Regions from separate parts of the Homo sapiens genome. Here all the other regions are linked to region 1. Evidence: promoter capture Hi-C in 16 types of primary human blood cells and fetal thymus (Javierre and others, 2016). All regions are on one chromosome and are shown on one strand. The core of a region is centred on a gene start or on the middle of the fragment in contact, and the rest is flanking DNA. Distances in the headings are between cores, read along the strand shown. Region 1 holds the start of NEK10 (NIMA related kinase 10). Region 2 holds the start of STT3B (STT3 oligosaccharyltransferase complex catalytic subunit B). Region 3 holds the start of TGFBR2 (transforming growth factor beta receptor 2).

Evidence for each region. The method cuts DNA at HindIII sites, captures the fragments that hold promoters and counts their contacts. A CHiCAGO score of 5 or more calls a contact.
Region 2: the fragment with the promoter of STT3B here is called in contact with the fragment with the promoter of NEK10 in region 1 in 1 of 17 cell types (monocytes); the score reaches 5.3 in monocytes.
Region 3: the fragment with the promoter of TGFBR2 here is called in contact with the fragment with the promoter of NEK10 in region 1 in 1 of 17 cell types (M0 macrophages); the score reaches 6.6 in M0 macrophages.

The regions. Positions count from the first base shown.
Region 1 is chr3:27,367,163-27,371,612 of GRCh38, reverse strand. NEK10 (NIMA related kinase 10) reads left to right here and starts at 2,230. Exons shown (of 36, transcript NM_001394966.1): 1 at 2,230-2,388. RefSeq lists an enhancer at 2,472-2,972. The HindIII fragment of the contact is 2,054 bases long and covers 2,023-4,076 here.
Region 2 is chr3:31,530,352-31,534,801 of GRCh38, reverse strand. It overlaps STT3B (STT3 oligosaccharyltransferase complex catalytic subunit B), which reads right to left and starts at 1,877. Exons shown (of 16, transcript NM_178862.3): 1 at 1,490-1,877. The coding sequence starts at 1,803. RefSeq lists enhancers at 1,145-1,204, 2,055-2,194 and silencers at 1,365-1,514, 1,595-1,724, 1,755-1,984, 2,295-2,554. The HindIII fragment of the contact is 5,534 bases long and covers 1-4,122 here.
Region 3 is chr3:30,604,588-30,609,037 of GRCh38, reverse strand. It overlaps TGFBR2 (transforming growth factor beta receptor 2), which reads right to left and starts at 2,437. Exons shown (of 7, transcript NM_003242.6): 1 at 2,061-2,437. The coding sequence starts at 2,154. LOC105377015 (translation initiation factor IF-2-like) reads left to right here and starts at 2,114. Exons shown (of 2, transcript XM_047449400.1): 1 at 2,114-2,892; 2 at 3,480-4,450. The coding sequence starts at 2,114. The coding sequence ends at 2,554. RefSeq lists a silencer at 2,264-2,363. The HindIII fragment of the contact is 4,009 bases long and covers 363-4,371 here.

The DNA.
Region 1 (4,450 bases), core at 981-3,480:
GCCCAATTTAAGTTCTGCCTTTACTTCAAATTGTACTCAGCCTTCTGCTTTCAGTCTACAAGATCATTCTCATTCCTCCACTTAGATTGTGTGTGTGTGTGTGTGTGTGTGTGTGTGTGAATAGCCTTTTCTTGTTCTAGACCATTGGGCTAAAGTATTTATAAATTTTGGGAAGTGGTTTTATCTTCTTGTTGAGGTGATCCTGAATATCTACTTACATGCAGATTTGTTACCTTTATGCTGTAGTTAGGACATTATGCTGTTTTACTTTTGAACTGTATAATTTACGTTATGCATTTCATTTAAAAAAAGGCCTTAGAAAAATATGTTTTCATAGTTTTGAGCCTTGCTATATAAGCTATAAGCTTGGTGCAAGATCTCTTGTGGGATTTTATTTTGTGTCATTTTACAGAGGGACCCTTAACATTTGAGATGATAGTGTATGTGTCTTTTAGAGGCAGTGTCATTCTTGCCTCTTAATCGCTGCAGCTTTCAGGGAAGTTCAGGAATATTCTGGGATGGCCAAAACATTAGTTTAAGACTTTAATTTTACTGAGTAGTGGAAAGATGGGAAGCACAATTGGTATTCTGGTGAAGATGAGAAGTTCAGTGCAGTCATGTCTCACTGCTTAATGTTTATTTTTTGAGATAGAGTCTTGCTGTGTCTCTCAGGCTGGAGTGCAGTGGCATGATCTTGGCTCACTGCACCTCTGCTTCCTGGGTTCAAGTAATTCTTGTGCCTCAGCCTCCTGAGTAGTAGGGACTAGCATGTGCCACCATGCCCGGCTGATTTTTCTGTTTTTAGTAGAAACAGGGTTTGGCCATGATGGCCAGGCTGGTCTCGAACTCCTAACCTCAAGTGGTCCTCCTGCCTCGGCCTCCCAAAGTGCTAGGATTACAGGTGTGAGCCACCAAGCCAGGCCGACTGCTTAACATTTAGAATGTATGTACAGAATACTTTTTCTACTCAGCATCGGTCTTCCTGCCCCGTCACCTTGTTTTGTTTTATTGGTAACATTAATCCTGATTGTTTTAGATCTCTGAAGTTTAATTAGTTCTGCTATACTCACCAGAGTTTGGCTTTCATCTCGCCTTTCTGCATTTCCAAAATAGGACCGTCTTCATTTTAAAAAATGCTTTCAATTACCCAAGCTTAAGTATTGTTAATCCAATGGGCCTACTTACTATCCACACCAGAAAAACGTTAGGGTTCACTGTATTCATTTAAAATCCAGTTTGGGAAGATGTAACCACCAGACACACACACGAGCGTTTAGTGATACCAAGATGAGGTTGAACAGGGCCCAGTACTCGAAGAAATCGTCGAAGGAGCATCATCGTGGTTAAGACCAGACTCGAAGTAGGTTTTACCCTGACTCCATCACTAGCTCTGCCATACTGGACTACTTAGGAAACTTCTTGTGCCTCCATTTTATAACTAAGTGAAATAAGGAAAGAATTTGAAATCGTGCCCGGCACAAAATTAAGCACTTAATAGATTGGCATTTTTCATTTATTTAAAGTTACAGAATGTCAGGTATATTTTTAAAGCGTTATCTAATGCAGTTCAGAAATTTTAAAGAAGCTCCAGACTTTCACAAAAGGTGAAGTGACTTGCCCAAAGCCACAAAACGAACTGGCGATAGTTATACTATACAGGTTTCTTGAATCCCAGGTCACTCTTTTTGTGAAAAATACGGTGCTGTGGCACCTTATTCTCATTGCCTGTGGCTTGAGTAACTGAAGACGTTTTCATGCCATATGAAAGGTATTTAGCATGCTGCATTGATTCCTTATCAGATTAAATCTTTGCTTTTAAAGAGAATTGATTTTTAGCCCATAGCAATTCTTGAAAGTAAACACTCCAAGATGAAGCTGCCCTTTCCCATCAAAGGTTAGACACCCTAAATCCAGAAAAATCTTCAACGTGTAGGAGACCTGTTCACAGGTAGCTCTAGGTTCCGGTGAAGTGGCTGCAGCACAGCCTTCAGCATCACTTGCTGCCTCTTCTGCTTGCAAGCTTGGTGGTGGATCTAGCGCGTCTCTGGTTGCTACGGCGATTCCCCGGCAGGCGTCATCCGTCGCTATGGCGTTCTGCACTGCGCAGCATGGCTGCTCCCGATTGGCTGAGGCGCCCCAGGTGGCGGAGGAAGAATTGTCGGCATTGGCCTGGCCAGCGCTGGTTGGTGGCCTGGAGGAGGATTTGATTGGAAAACCAACGGTGCAGCTGGCCGCGGTGTCCCTGAGGTTGAGGGGACCGGGAATAGGCTGGGGGGAGGACGGGACGGGCTGAGACTGGACGGGACCCCCGGTCTGCAGCAGCAGGTGACAGCAGCAGGGACAATGATAAGGAGATTGGCCTGAAGGAGGGACCGTCCCTCCCGCGCGGTGAGTAGGCGGGAGCCGGTGCTCGGCTGTGCCGGCGAGCAGCTTGAGTCAGGGTCTCCGGGGAGACGTCCTCAGGTCCCTGTGGAGCGGCCCCGAAGCCTCGGGAGCCAGCTTCACTAGACAAGAGGCAGAGGTAGAGAATGCGGCTGTGGTGGGTAAGTGAGTCACTGCGTGAGGCAGTCTTTTCAAAGCAGGTGGGTTTGTGTTGGACGGATGGATGGTGGGAAAGCGCCATCAACGATGCTTCTTGGCGCTTCCATTTTGATAACGGAATTATTCTGGTTAAATGGAGCCTGAATGTGTCTCTTCCAATCTGCTCCGACGCCTCTGGAGGTTCATTCTTCATCTCTATGAGCGTCGCTTTTCTGCCTTCTCCTTACAGGATGCTGCTTTGACTTTGCCCCTCTGCTTTTCTGCCCTACTTCGGTGAGCCCTTCCACTTCCTCGCCTCAGGCACCATCTATCTGACGATGATTAGAAAGTCTCCAACTGGAACCTAGCCTGCTCTACTAACTGTCAGACCCCAAAATCCAGCTGCCAAGTTAACGCCACACATGTGCAACCCTGAACGCCATCTTCCCCATGTCTGCTGCTGCTCTTGGATTCCCTATTTTGGGCATCACTATCCATTCAGCTTTCAAAAACTACACTCTAGACGACATCCATGACACTTACTGCTGCTTCCTCTGCATCTCTATCAATTATCAAGACTATCCCTTCTTAATAGGTGTTGAATCAATTCCCACATTACCATCTCTATTTTTACTGTCTCAATTTCCACCATCGGTTGGTTAAATTCAACACCCATCTGGCTTCTCCGATTCTAGTCTGGCCCTATCTATCCAATCCACTTTTTTCCCCACCATTGTTGAACTGATATATATATATGTGTATATATATATATATGGAGTCCTTCTAAAAAAGACTCCTTTTTTAGAAGGAGTCTTGCTGTGCTGCCAGGCTGGAGTGCAGTGGAGCGATCTCAGCTCACTGCAGCCTCCGCCTTCCGGGTTCAACCAATTCTCATGCCTCAGCCTCCAGAGAGCTGGGATTACAGGCGCGAGCCACTACGCCTGGCTAATTTTTGTATTTTTAGTAGAGAAGGGGTTTCACCATGTTGGTCAGGCTGGTCTCGAACTCCTGATCTCAGGTGATCCACCCGCCTCAGCCTCCCAAAGTGCTGGAATTACAGGCGTGAGCCACCGTGCCCGGCTAAACTGATCTTTTTAAAACGCACATAAGGGCATTTCCCTTCCCTACTTAAAGTCCTGCAATGATTCCCCATTACCCTAATCCAATCTTTAGTTAGGCCTTCTATCAGCAGTTCCATCTTGATTGTTCCCAGAATATGTCACATTCTCTCCTGTGTGTAATTATCTCACCTGTTGCTCACACTGCCTGGAATGGACTTTCCTTTTTGCACCCCCACACTCCTGCTCTCACTCCCCAATCATTTTCTGTATGTTGCTTGATTACTGTTTCTTTCTCTGGACTGCCTCTGTGACGGCAGAGACCATCTTTGTCTCAGTCACTATTGTTATATATATCCAGCATTTAGCCCAGTGCAAGACATCGTAACAGGTGTTCAACAAATACTTGTTAACTGACTGAATCTCTAAAATGAGAAGTTACTGTTTGCCATGGTATCTTTATTTCTTCCAGAAAAGTCAGAAATGGCCAATGAAGCTTTTGCTTATAAAAGGTAAATATTGAAAAAATGTTATAAAAGGTACAGGTTTTACTTTAATTTCAAGACCCTTAGTAATTGGAAACTACTTCAATTCACAGTTTATAGTTCAAGCCATAATCATTATCACGGTAGCTGTTATTATATGACATAAGCTTAAAATGGTAAAGAGAGAGACAGTACAGCATGGTGTGCAAGAGCTAAGCTTTGGAGTCATACATACATGGGTTTGAATCCTAGCTCTAGCATTTTAATTGTGTAACACATAACAAATTACTTAGCCTCTAGTCAGATTCTTTATCTGCACAATGGGGGTATAATAGCACCTAGCTCATAGGATTCTTTTAAAGATTATATGTACATAATTCATACCAA
Region 2 (4,450 bases), core at 628-3,127, 4.2 Mb before region 1:
GAAAACAAAATCAAAACTTCTAAAATGGAATGAAAACATTTCATGGAAGACTGTCACAGTAATTAACTGATCTAAATTGAATTGTCCATGAGTGGGCCCCTCTGGTGTTCAATAGATGTTGCAGTACCAATTTTTCTCTCCATAATGCAGAACTTAAATCTGGTATATTACTATACAGGTAAGTTACTGCCCCCCTCCACCCGAACACTTATTATCTATATAGTTAGTAACTCTCAAAAAAGACTCTCTCTCTTTGAATCTCAAATGATGAAACAAATATCCTGAAATTTAATTAGGTCTAACTGTGAGGAAGTAAGATTAACTCAAGGTTGACAGGTCAATAAGATAACACTAGTTTAAAAGGCATACTCTCAGAGGGGAAAATCCTAACTCAGGGGGAAAAATCCTAACTCGGGTTGGGCAAGTTGCGAAAAAAAAGTTAAAGCAATCTTTCCATCTAGATAATTCACAGACCAATGTAGTGTCTAAGTTAGCTAGTGTTGTTAAGAGTGGGGTAATTTCCTAAAACATTCAGGTCAGTCCCTTACACCATGTGCAACTTCGGTATTACAATCTAGGACTCCCATCACCGTGGTACTGTTTGCTCTTATCCACAAACCTTCCTGCAGACCAATAAAGGAACTAATGCAATGCTTTCAGATACTGTGCATAACACACTAAGGGTGACAGTGGCTAACAGGGTAAGGATCTTGTTCTAAAAAGCAACCCAAGACGATAGTGAAACAGTAAGGTGCTGAGTGCACTTAAGAGCTCTGAAAAAAAGCCACTCTTTAAAATACCTAATGATAAATAAATAAGAGTAGCTAGCTTTCAGATCACTTTCAGGGGTATTATTTCCTTCCCTCCAACACGCCATTCACTCTCCTTTTCCCTTCTCGTATCATGAGAGCATAAAAAGAAACAGTAAAAGCGTAAAACTGCAAGGGTGAGCAGCCGGGGTTCCGGCACATCTGGACCCACCTCCAGCGGCAACAGGGCAGCCCCCCTGGCCGATTCCGTCTGAACTAGCAAAAACGCGCCCGCAAATATGAAAGAACGCGAAAGCAGCGGGCGAGGAGGGCGGGGAATCGACCGACAGTCCGCGGAGGAGCTACCTGCCGCCTCCTGGCGTGGCGGGTCCGGACTCAGCGACCAAAGCGGGCTGCGAGGGACTGCACCCACACTCCCGGCGGCTGCACCCACACTCCCGGCGGCTGCATCCACACTCCTGGCAGTCTTCACACTAGCCCGGCCGAGAATCAAGGTTTCGCTCCTGGACCCCGACGCCCCGCCTCAGGCTGCACGGGGCAAACTTCGCCCACGGGCAGGGGGCGCGCCCGGAGCTCCGGGATCCGCGCCGGCCTCAGCCAGGACGCGAGCGGGGCTCCGCGGCGGCGCGGGGCCAAGTCGAGGAGAGCTGCGGCGGGCGGAGGAGCGGGTCCCGGTTCCCCGCGGGCCACGGGCGGGGGAGGGGCGGCGAGGCACTTACCACGGGTCGAACTCGTGGATGATGCTTTCGAAGCGGATGACGGCGAAGAGGCGCGAGCTGAAGCCGGCAAGCCAGGCCAGGAAGAGGATGGTGAAGGAGAGAAGCGACTGCCACCCAGCCGGCTGCGACAGCCCCCCGGACAGCCCCGCCGGGGCCGGCTTCGGCGGCGCCGCGCCGCCCGCCGCCTTGTGCGCGCACTGGGCCCCGGGCCCGTGGTGGCCGTGCCGGCTGTTTCCCAGGGCCATGAGGCCACTCCACGGGGACGAGTTGAGGGACGACTTGTGCTTGCTCTCCGGGGCCGAGGGCTCCGCCATGTTGTGCCCCGGCGGCGGGTCTAGCTCTCCTCCTCCGCCGCCGCCGCCTGGTGCGAGGGGTGCTGGGCGGGGACCCGGAGGAGGAGGAGGAGGAGGAAGAAAAAGGAGGAGGGAAGAGCTCTGCGCGCTCCCGCCCTCAGCGCCGCGAGGCCGGCGGACTGGGGGTGGAGGAAGCGGCGGCGGGGAGTCTCCGCCTCAGCAGCGGCCGCAATCGCCGCTCTCTCAACCCAGATGGCCCCGGCGCCCCACTAGCCATCCGTATCCCCAGTGCAGCTGCGGCGGCGGCGGCGAAAGCCGACGGGACGAGGGCGCCAGGAAAGAAGCAGCAGACGGAGGCGGCACCACGGCTCTGAGAAGCAATGACATTCCCTCTCTAGCCCGCCGCCCGCCCAGCCGAAAGGAGCAGGGGGAGGAGCCCCCTGGAGTCCGGGCGGAGCTCAAGCAACCTCTGACTCCGCCTCCGGCCCGACAGGAACTGGCCCCTCCGCCTGTCACAAAGCGACAGGTCCGTTAGGGGGCGGGCCCAGAACCGCTGCGCCCACCAATAGGGGCGCGAGCTGGGGCGGAGCTTGACCCAACCGTCTCCCCCTCCCCCCCACCATCCCGGCCTCGCGCCGATTCGCCCGGAGTGGCCGAGCTGCGCGGCTACGGCTTCATTGTCAGTTGAAAGACGCGGTTTCGCGCGCCTGTGCGGTCGGCGAGAAAGGGTACTAGGCGGCTCCGCTAGGTTCATGGAGCTGAGCTGGGCCGAGGGGCGGGAACTGCGGAGCGGCCTCGGTCAAACTCGTCTTAAAGGACGCGGAAAGCGCCGCACCGACCAGCAGGACGCTCGCGGGCTCTCCGCGGTCGTGACTTTTAACCCGCTTTGCGCGGAGCCCTCACCACGTGACGGCCGCGCAGGCGCATTATCCTAGCCCTCGGCGCGTGGGTCGGGCCGAGGGGTTCAGCAGCCCGTGGCGCTCCTCGGCTGGCGCTGCGAGTGAGCCCGCGGCGGCAGTGACACAGCCTACCTTGCTCATTGCCCTTCACGTCCCGCCTCCGGCTTCTGCGGCCGCGGGAATCCGAGAATGTGAGCAAAGACAAGTTTTCCGACACCGAAAACTCGTTGGAACCGGCAAGCGCGCCCCTAGCTCCGGCAGGCAAAATGCGACCTTCTCTCGCCCTTTTTCGTTTGTACTCCGAATTGCGAAAGTACTGTATGTTCACTGGAAATATGGGAAAATGCAGAAATACATTAACGGCTGCATACATTCCGTCGAGTGAGTGAAACTAACTTACCCTGGACGTTAAGCTGTTTCCAGTTCTCACTTTACTAAATAATAATAGAACGAAGGTTCTTGTGCACGTCTACCTTGTATTTTTATAATTCCTTTCCTTTCCCCACTTCCCTCCTTGTCCGCTAAAATAAAGTGCTACCAGATAAACTCAGGGCAAAATGAGCTTAAACTAAGTGAGGTAGTGGGGAGACTCGAATTGCTCTTATATAAACCCCATAGAAAGTACGGAGCTTTCGGCGTAATCGGTGCTCAGTAAATACTTGTTCATGTCAATTCACAGCTAATTGTACATTTTATTAGGTAAGTAACATCTGGATATTAAAGGGCATATTAATGTAAAACTATAAAGGCCCTGAATTATTTTCTTAGGTGATTTAAATTTTTCTCTTTAACTACAAATTGTGTTTCAATATTAATAGAAGTCTTAAAATATTAGATAAATGAACCCTAGTTATTTTGAGGTAGCTCCTTGAAAGTAAGGCAACTCCAGCTACCCTTTTAACCTGCTAAGTGGTTACGTTTTGTCTTGTTTCCTTAAAAAAACCATAAATAGTCTTATTAAGGAAATAATGAAAAGGTTTCCAGAAATAGACTTTCTCACCAACAGTTTAATAGCCGACATTTATTGAACGTACACATTTTAATGAGAATTAGGATAAAATATTAACTGCCTCTGTTATACAGAGAAAGATGACATGCTTTTCCTCATAGCCCAAACGGTACATGCTGAAATGACAGCAGAGGATTTTTGTCTGTGTTCCCTGAACCAAAGTTTTATCAGTCTAAAATAAAATTTGTGTTTTTATTTTAATTTGTTTGGATATTTCTATTTTATTGTCTTTGTGTATCTATTCCCTAGTAAGTTCTACGTTATCTTCTTTTGCTTCCTGTTTTGGCTGTTTAATGGCCATAGGCCTGATCTGAAAAGTGACAAAGTGAAATAGTCCCAAATTGTTGCTTACTAGTCATGTAGCATTGGACAAGTCACCTGCATGGGTTGCCCTTTCTGCTCTTAAAGTCAGTTGTTAATATTAAAAAAGCTTATCTGAAAGCATTTTAGGAAATTGTTAAGGAACGTGCAAATACAGGGTAGTGGTAAAGGTGAAAAGCCCTACGAAAACCCCTTGATTTTTGACCTTCATTTATTCACTCATTCATTCAGCAAGTATATATTGAACTCCTTTATGCCGACCACTGTGAGTGAACTGGGATGCATGGGGATTCAGCTAGGAACAGGAAAGACAGGGCTCCTACTCTCAGAGAGTTCACCAGCCAGCCCTAGGAAGGGAGGTATTAACCAAATCATCAGATGGTTCAGGACCAAAATGCAGGGTGACAAACACTGTGGAGGACAGGCACATGGGGAATTT
Region 3 (4,450 bases), core at 1,188-3,687, 3.2 Mb before region 1:
AAAGTGACTCGTGAACTATTGGGTCTGGAATTTGCAAATCATAAACCTTATCCTTGTAAACAGAACCTAACTAACAACATCAGGGCCTGCTAATTTCCTTCTTTTATAATCTGGAACAAAAGTTGTAATGATTTTTAACATCCACAGAAAATTAAGGGTGCCATTTTAAATATTTATTAGCAAAATGTCACTTAGGTTTTAAAAGTCTGGAGGAAAATGAGAGACAATTGAACATTCTGGTACTGCAATGCAGGAAAAACGCCAAGAACGAAACACTAAGATTTTATTAAAACCATAGGACTCAAATGTGTGTCAAGACTTTTTGCTTGCAATAGTGCCTCTTCCTAATTTGATTAAAAGCTTCCATCTCCATGCCACCTTCAATGTATGCCATAATTTTTAAAAAGTTCCCAATCCACTTCAAACACTCTAAAATTTACAACTGACCGTGATGCGCATTTTTTCTAGACAAACCTAAAGGTAAATCTGCCCATGTCCCTGGATAAATAAAATGAGTGCCTCCGGGTGATGTGGACTGTCAACTCCTCTACATTTCATCCAAAGTCTACATGGGTCATCTCCAAGTCACCAGAAGAGCCAGGGGAAAGGAGGGGAGGGGCACGATACGTAAGATGTTAAACATGAAGATGATGTAAAATTACCCAGATTCAAGCTGGCCATTTTACAGATGAGGAAACTAAGGCCCAGAAAAAGCTCTATGACTTGCCCAAATACTCGGTTACCCAGACCACAGCTGCAGATACTGTTATTTGGATCATAGCTGCAAAAAGTCTAACTTTTGGCCGGGCGCGGTGGCTCACGCCTGTAATCCCAGCACTTTGGGAGGCCAAGGTGGGCGGATCACGAGGTCAAGAGATCGAGACCACCCTGGCCAATATGGTGAAACCCCGTCTCTACTAAAAATACAAAAATTAGCTGGGCGTGGTGGCACGCGCCTGTAATCCCAGCTACTCGGGAGGCTAAGGCAGGAGAATCGCTTGAACCCAGAGGCAAAGTTGCAGTGAGCCGAGATTGCGCCACTGCACTCCAGCCTGGTGACAGAGCGAGACTCCGTCTCCAAAAAAAAAAAATCTAACTTTTGAAGTCTCAGAGGTTTTACACTTTCCATAACAAATAGTTAAGAACCCCCATTCCTGCATGCATATATATATTAATATTATATATATTTATATATATAATTATATATATATTTATATATATATAATATATATATATATTTTTTTATTTTTATTTTTTCCTTAAAAACCTTCAGAGACAGCGATCAGGTGGGTAGCCTAGTTAGGATTTTAACCCTTCGGTTTCCAACAAACGATAATTGCATAGAACCATCAACTCCCTGAAGACAGGACTATCTTGTTCCAGGCAAAATCTACAGCCTCTAGCACCCAGTAGGCATTCAGTGAGGGATTCTCGGTTTCACCTGAGCATCTCCACTCCCTATCCATCCATGCCAAGGCGTCAGTGGAGCCAGCTAACTTTCTTTTGGAAATCGATTATTTTCTTGAAACTTGTTTCCAAAAACTCCGGGCCAAGAAGCCGGCCTGAGGGAAAGCGTGGCCGTCTCCAGGAGCTAAGGACTGAGGAGCTGGCCTTTTGAACGGGTGGCTCAGAAAGAGCTGGGTGGGCACGCGGCATCGCCATGGGCGGAGTGGCCCAGGTGCGCTGGCTGCTTTGGCAGCTCAGGCTGCCGCTCCGGGCCGCTGCTCCCCGGCCGCCTTCAGATAACCAACTTCTCAAACTTCCCTTTCCGGGGGTGGGGGCTCGCCTCGAACGCGGCCAACACAACGCCTTTCCTGCTCGCACAAAGGGGACCAAACGTGCCCCGCGCCCCTTGCAACTGAACTTTCCTTCTCTTTTTCAAGAAAAACTCACAATCCCTGCAGCTACGGGAGTCGGGCTGCGTGAGTGTCGCGGGGGAAACTTTCCTCGTTTCCGCCCGGGGGCCGGGTTGCCGGGCCCGACTGTCAAGCGCAGCGGAGAGGCGGGGACCCCAGGAAGACCCCCGGCGCCCCGCCGAGCCCGGGCTGGGGACCACTCACCCGACTTCTGAACGTGCGGTGGGATCGTGCTGGCGATACGCGTCCACAGGACGATGTGCAGCGGCCACAGGCCCCTGAGCAGCCCCCGACCCATGGCAGACCCCGCTGCTCGTCATAGACCGAGCCCCCAGCGCAGCGGACGGCGCCTTCCCGGACCCCTGGCTGCGCCTCCGCGCCGCGCCCTCTCCGGACCCCGCGCCGGGCCGGCAGCGCAGATGTGCGGGCCAGATGTGGCGCCCGCTCGCCAGCCAGGAGGGGGCCTGGAGGCCGGCGAGGCGCGGGGAGGCCCCCGGCGGCCGAGGGAAGCTGCACAGGAGTCCGGCTCCTGTCCCGAGCGGGTGCACGCGCGGGGGTGTCGTCGCTCCGTGCGCGCGAGTGACTCACTCAACTTCAACTCAGCGCTGCGGGGGAAACAGGAAACTCCTCGCCAACAGCTGGGCAGGACCTCTCTCCGCCCGAGAGCCTTCTCCCTCTCCTCGACGTCCAGCCCCTAGCTCTCTCGTAGCTGCCAATCATGTTTCCTAGACCAGCCCCTCCGAGAGCTTTGGCCGACTTTCAGCTGCCCCTCACCGCCCTCCCACACCACTCAGGAGTTCCTCGCTCCAAGTATTTACTCAAGAATGACTAAGTGCACACAGTTCACAAAGTAACAACAGAAAACGTCCACGTTTTCCCTAGTAGATCAGAACATCTGCCGCCTCCCCTCAGCTTTCTTCAGATTGCTCCTAGGTGCTTTAGAGATGCGTTTTCAAATTGCAAGTTGAGATCCAGGAGTGAATACTCCAATCTATTGAGTCGCGAGCACATTTCTTTCCCAAATAAAATAGTAACGGTAAATTCTACTTCATTAAATTTGTGCTTCAGTTGTGTCTATATGCATGTATGTATGTGCATACACTGTCAAGTTGTAAAATGTTTTTCTTTAGGTCGAAGTCTAGAGGTTTTTCTCAAGTTTTAATGTACATATTGATCACCTGGAAATCTTATTTAAAAATGCAGATTCTAATTCAGTAGGTCTAGGAGGCAGGCAGAGATTCTGCATTTCTAATGAGCACCTGGATAGAGCGTCCCATTTTGCACCGCCTCTTCCCGGGACTGAGTCAGTGAGTAATTGTAAATGATCACCTATCACGAAGTGATAGTGGTGGGAAATGTAATTTTCAGAATGTATAGAGTATAGCAGAAACTGTAAAATTAAAAGTGGGTTGGGAGTCACCTGAATGCTTGTGCTTTTATTCCCTTAATGCAGGTGAAGAAAGAGAATACTTACCCTCTCATGTGCAAACGGGGTAACATGGGAGCAGAACAGTATAAACTTTCAAATTTCCTTTCTTGCTAGGGCAACCAGATTTGCCCAAGACATTCCTGGTGTACATGTTTTGTAGTTTAAATATTAATAGAACCCCCTTTCTCTTTCAGATATGTCCTGATTGGATAATAAACTATGTGATCAACCTACTTCCCACTCTCAAAGATATGATTCTGTACAGCCCTCTGGTCAGTAGATCTTCTAGCAATTCATTTAATGAATTCCTTTACCTGAGAGGAAGATTGCAGAGGCAAGGGTTTGTGCCAGGGTCTCCAGGGAATAAAGGTAAATAGCCCTCCCCCAAACCCAACTCCCAAATCTTTCCTGTCATTCTAAGTGTTCATTTGCTTCATCCTGGAATTTTAACTCATGCTCCACCTAGCACCCAAGCTGCCTCTGGATGTTTTGCCACTTCCCAGTACTCATGTTGAAGATGCAGAAAGTGCAGTGAAATCAGGAGGGCTAGGCATCTTCTTTCCCACCAATTAATTGCCTTGCCAAAGCTGGAGTGACTTTGTCAATGGAGGAAGATTGAGTTCCAAATCTTCTCCCTATTCCCTCTTCTGCCACCAGCCCATGCCACTGCCATGGCTTGTGTAGGAGTCTCCCACGAGTCACCCTCAGCCACGGCCGTTCTGGGCTCTTTCACTCAGTTTCTCAAACGAGAGCTGAATTCAGCTTTTCAAAATACAAAACTAGTTATACCAACCCTCTGATTAAAATCATTTAATGGCTTCCCACTGCTCTTGAGATAAAGAGAAGATAAAAACCAGATCCTTGAACGTGTCTTCAAGCCTCCAACTCTCCCGTAAACTTTCATTTGGCTTCTCCTTGCTTACTGAAAGCCTTCTCCAAATTTCGTGAATATGCCTCTGTAATCCTCCTACCCTTTATGCTTAGAGCCTTCCCCAGTGTGGACTTCCTTCCTCTGACCTTTTTTTCTTCACCCAGCCAACTCCTGGTCTTCGTGGATTGAATCATAACTTCTTTGATGGGCAAGCTTTCCCTCACCTCCATGAGTAGATCTTGTATTACACGTTCTCTTGGCACCATATGCTTTTCTTTTAACAGCTGTAACTTT